Linked DNA regions of Homo sapiens: region 1 is linked to region 2. The links are contacts of gene promoters, found by promoter capture Hi-C in human tissues and cell types (Jung and others, 2019). All regions are on one chromosome and are shown on one strand. The core of a region is centred on a gene start or on the middle of the fragment in contact, and the rest is flanking DNA. Distances in the headings are between cores, read along the strand shown. Region 1 has its middle 120 kb from the start of LINC02753. Region 2 holds the start of ANO1 (anoctamin 1).

The links. The method cuts DNA at HindIII sites, captures the fragments that hold promoters and counts their contacts. A contact is called where the count stands out against the background at its distance.
Region 1: a fragment that was not itself captured here is called in contact with the fragment with the promoter of ANO1 in region 2 in 3 of the 25 tissues and cell types used here (H1 embryonic stem cells, aorta and liver).

Annotation. Positions count from the first base shown.
Region 1 is chr11:69,944,927-69,947,626 of GRCh38, forward strand. No RefSeq gene overlaps it. Among named protein-coding and RNA genes, the nearest start is that of LINC02753, 120 kb to the right of the region's middle. The HindIII fragment of the contact is 8,856 bases long and covers 1-2,700 here.
Region 2 is chr11:70,077,009-70,079,709 of GRCh38, forward strand. ANO1 (anoctamin 1) reads left to right here and starts at 1,309. Exons shown (of 26, transcript NM_018043.7): 1 at 1,309-1,706. The coding sequence starts at 1,599. The HindIII fragment of the contact is 18,532 bases long and covers 1-2,701 here.

The DNA of each region.
Region 1 (2,700 bases), core at 114-2,613, 130 kb before region 2:
GTTAAGCATTTGAAGTGATCTTACCAAGAATCTGCAGCACTGGCAAGACTAGACTCCTTTCTACCAGGGGCGATTTTAATCTTCCACCCGGTCATGCAAAAAGAACACCACGTTTCCATGCTGTCACCCCACCCTTTGCTGAGCTGGAAGAACCCAGAGGGCCCTCCCCTGGCTCCCACCTTTATTGAGGGACCTCAATAAAGAAAGATTCATTTTACAGTCAACAATAAGCACGAACAGTAGAGATGACAGGTGCCTAGCAAGTATTTGCTGGATGGGTAGAAGGAAGGAAGAAAGGAGAGAGGGAAGGAAGGCAAGGGAAGGGAAATGAGGGAGGGGAAGGGAAGGGAGAGAGGGAAGGAGGGAGGAAGGAAGGAAGGAAGGAAAAGAGGAAGGAAATGAGAGTAATGGATGGATGAGTGGGTGGATGGATATGTGGATGGATGATAGATGGCTGGCTGGATGGATTAATGGATAGCTATGTGAGTGGATGGATGAACAGATGATGAATGGATAGATGGGTGGATGGGTTGATGTGTGAATGAATGATGGATAAATGGATGGGTGGATATGTGGGTAACTGGATGGATGGATGGATGGGTGGGTGGATGGATGGATGGATGGATGGATGGATGGATAGATATGTGGGTAGATGGGTAGGTGAAAGGCTGGGTAGGTGAGTGAGTGAGTTATATGTTTCAGGGATGCTCCAAATCAGGGAAACCCAACATCATAGAAAGGTGCTTCACAGTGGACTAAAGACTAATAAAAGATACCTTCCAACAGCAAGATTGCTTATGGTTTTAATTTTCTTCTTTGTGCTCCTCTGTATGAAACAAAATGGGGAAACTCTACTTACCAGAATGCCTGCCGGGGAGTGCAGATGTAATTAGAAGGCATACTATGGTAAGCCACGGGGGCAGAGGTGGGAGGGACATGACCCCTCCAAGCTGAGGCTTAAGCTTTAACATGGTGGTACCCCTGCTCTGTTAATAGGGAGGCCTCTCAAGGAAGCAGGCTTATCTTTGCTGAAGGAGATTTGATATCATGTGGGGGAGCTGAGGACTTAGAGAAGAGGCACTTGGCAGGAGGTGGGCAGAGAAGGTGGAGCTCTGATGGCCACAAGAGGGAAACAAGAGTAAGGACTCTACCTGTGGTAGAGAAAAGATGTGTTTATGGGAATGTTTGAGGCCATTTGCCATGGAGTGCTATGTGCTCGTCTGTCTTTTTAGCTTGATGTCTTGTTGCTGAGGGGCTTAGCAACAGCAGGCATTTATTACTTACATTTCTGGAAGCTGGAAGTCCAGCACCAAGGTTCTGGCAGACACAGTGTCTGGTGAGGGCTCACTTACTCCATTCCTAGTTTGCAGATAGCCGTTGATATGGATTGGCTGTGTCCCCACCCAAATCTCATCTTGGAATTTTACTCCCATAATTCCCACGTGTTGTGGGAGGGAGTCGCTGGGGGATAATTGAATCATGGGGCAGTTTCCCCCATACTGTTCTCGTGGTAGTGAACATAAGTCTCATGAGATCTGAGGGTTTTATCAGGGGTTTTGGCTTTGGCTGAAGGGGATCTGACATCGTGTGGGGGAGCTTAGGACTTAGAGAAGAGGCACTTGGCAGGAGGCGGGCAGAGAAGGTGGAGCTCTGATGGCCACAAAGAGGGAAGCAAACAAAAACAGACACCTGTGGTAGAGAAAAGACGCGTTTATGGGGGTGTTTGAGGCCATTTGCCTTGGAGTGGCAAATTCTCTGTTTGTCTGCTGCCATCCGTGTAAGACAGGACTTGGTCCTCCTTGCCTTCCGCCAAGATTGTGAGGCTTCCCCAGCCATATGGAACTTAAGTCCAATTAAACCTCTTTCTTTTGTAAATTGCCCAGTCTTGGGTATGTCTTTATAGGCAGCATGACTAATACAGCTGTTTTCTCACTGTGTGCCCACACGGTGGGGAGAGAAACAGAGACAGAGACACAGAGACACAGGGACATACAGAGACACAGAGACACACACAGAGAGAGACACAGAGACACACAGACACACAGAGAGACACAGAGACAGAGACACACAGGGACACACAGAGAGACACAGAGACAGAGACAGAGAGACAGAGACACACAGAGACGGAGACACACAGAGAAAGCATTTCTTTGCCTCTCTTCTGGTAAGGACTCTAATCCCATCATGAGGACCACAAGCTCATGACCTCATCACCTCCCAAAGGCCCCACCTCCCAAACCCATCTCATTGAAGATTAGGGTTTCCACATATGAATGTTGGGGGTACACGAACATTCAGTCCATAGCAACTCTTCCCCTCTGTTCCTTTATTAATTATTAATTATTAATTATGAGTTATTATTAATTATCATAGTTAATTATTAGTTATTAATAATCATAATATTAATTATCTATTAATTATAATATAATTAGTTATTATTAATTATATTTTTAAATATATAATTAATTATATTATATTTTATATACAATATATTTTAATATATTTTTAATATATTTTAATATATAATTAATTATAATAATTAGTTATTATTAACTATAATAATTAATAATACAAGTATTAATTATAATAATTAATAATACAAGTATTTATTATGAATTATGAATTGAAAATTACTAATACAACCTAAATATAAAACCTCCAAGTTCAGAGTTTGCCTGGATTTCAGTGGAAGCCGCGCCC
Region 2 (2,701 bases), core at 59-2,558:
CTGGAAGGTGCCAGAGCTGGAGCTAGACCCCACCCCTTCTCTCCAACCCTATCCTAGCTGACTCCAGGTTCCATGCTTGGAACCATGGCACGCTGACGACATCGTGGCCTTTAAAGACAATTTTCTAATCACTTCTGTAGGCCTTGAATGTTCCCCAGTGGCCATTTAACAAGCAATTATTGAGCATCGGCTGTGTGAACCTGGTAGACAACCCACTGTAAAATGAGACGGAATAAATGAAGTGCTAGTTGGGGTTCAGGCAGGTTCTTTGGATAGACAGGAAGGCCTGCATATTTGGGTGGGAAGGGGACAGTAGGGGAGAATCCAGCAGGACTTCCTGCAGGAGGTGCTATCTGATGCACACCGTGAAGAACTCATAGGATGTGAGAGGCAGAGGGACACTTTATTTCCACTGGATGTGGTGGCCAGCATGGCCCCTGGGGCTTAACCTGAGTATGGTCGTCCCCTGGGGACCTGCCTTATTCTCCTTAGGGGAAGAAGACTTGAAGATCTGCAGTGTGCCAGACCCCTGCTAGGTCCGGGGGTAAGAGAGATCAAAGCCACCATCCCCCCCGCTCCGCCCCTCCAGAAAGCAGGACAGCCTTGCCCAGCAGTGGGGAAAGCTCTGCAGGAGCCCCGCCCCACCTCAGAGGATGCGGACTGGTCCTTGGCCCTCCTAAGCCTGAGTGTCCTCTGCAAAATGAGGACCCGCATTCCAACCTTGCAGGTGCGGGGTTAAATGAGATGATACACACTCACGCCCTACATCAGGGACGCTGCACGCACCTGGGCACAGAACACTAAGCACTCCGTAAACTCGGGGGCACCGGTAACATCAGTGGGCTCCAGGGAGATGACTGCCCCGGGAGAGACTCCCCCAGGAGCGCGGGCAGCTGGAGGGGGCGGGTCGGCAGGAACCAGGCAAGCTCCCCGGAGGAGGTGAGTGCTGAGTGACAGCAGGAGTTTGCCAGGGTGGAGGGAAAGGGGCAGAGATCCAGACTCCAATCTCAGAAGCTTCACTCCCCCCGGAGGCGGAGGTGACGCGCCACAGAAGCGCCTGCCACTCGGGGACTTTATTTCAGGTGGGGCTATTGAAAGTTCCCCCCTTTCACACCCGGTATGAAAACCCTCAAAAATCCAAAGGGGCACTTTCCCTGGATAAAAATAAAACTTGGAGGGGCCCGCAGGAATGGAATACTTTTTCTTCCTGTGTTTAAATTTCTACGGAAAATCTGACCGGCGCGGCCACCGCCCCTGCCATAGGCGGGCGGAGAGCGCTTATATCTTTAAGGCAAAGGCGGGCCGGCTGGCGTCCAAGTTCCTGACCAGGCGCGGGCCGGCCCGCGGGACCAGCAGCCGGGTGGCGGCGCGATCGGCCCCGAGAGGCTCAGGCGCCCCCCGCATCGAGCGCGCGGGCCGGGCGGGCCAGGGCGGCGGGCGGAGCGGGAGGCGGCCACGTCCCCGGCGGGCCTGGGCGCGGGGAGGCCCGGCCCCCTGCGAGCGCGCCGCGAACGCTGCGGTCTCCGCCCGCAGAGGCCGCCGGGGCCGTGGATGGGGAGGGCGCGCCGCCCGGCGGTCCCAGCGCACAGGCGGCCACGATGAGGGTCAACGAGAAGTACTCGACGCTCCCGGCCGAGGACCGCAGCGTCCACATCATCAACATCTGCGCCATCGAGGACATCGGCTACCTGCCGTCCGAGGGCACGGTGAGTGCGGGCGGCCGCGACCCGGGCGGGAGGGCCGCGCACCTGCGCCTTGGCGAGGGCGGGAACCGGGCGGCGGCAGGGCCTCCTGGGACCCCAGGGCGGGGGCCGCACCCTCCGCGCAGGGTTCGCGGCGCCCACCCGCGCACGTGCGTGCCGGGAAGGGCGCGCCGGCCCTGGCCAAGTGCGTGCGCCCCGCCTGCGCTCTGAGCGTTCCGAGCGCGGCGCCCACTCCGCCCAGCGCAGCGCCGGGCCCCCAGGCATGGCCCGGCCTCGGAGCTCTGCGGCCCCGAAGCCGCCTCACCCGGGGCTGCAGCTCGGAGCCCAACCAAGAGCTCACGGCTGGCGCCCTGGATGGGACCTTCCCTTCCTGGCTCGCGGCCAGGGGTACCTGTTGGGGCAGCCAGGGTGAGGGTGATGGTGGGGGTCTTGGGTGAAGGCCAAGTTGGTCGCCACTCCACGATGATGGTAACTGCCAGGCCCCACTGCTTCACTATCCTCTGGGGCCAGAGTCCCGAGTCCTCACTTGCCAGAAACGCATATTGTGCCCAGGGCACTGGGCCTGGTACCCTGGCATTGGCACCGAAACTCTCAAAGCCCAGGGTGTCAATCATTGGAGATTGCTTTCTACCCTCGCCCCTGTCTCCCCTGGGCGCCCAGGCCTGGTTCAGGTGGGGGCACTGGTTGGAAGCCAGTCATGTAAGTTGGGGACCCCATCCTGAGGTCCCCAATATCCCCACCACCCTCCCCAGGGCCAGACCCAGAGGTCTAGGTAACCCTATGTTTTAGAGAGGGGGGCAGAATTCTCCCAGGAAGGGTTTGGCTTGAAGGACAAAGTTTGCCGGAAGAGGATAGGACAGGGCTGGGACTGGCTATCTCCTCTTGGGGTGAGGGAAGCTCTCAGCAGCAATTTGTGGGACCTAAGGACAGAAGCTCCCTTCTACCTTCTTCCCATGCAGACCCCATCAAAGCCCCTCCCCAGGCGTCAGGCCCAGCAG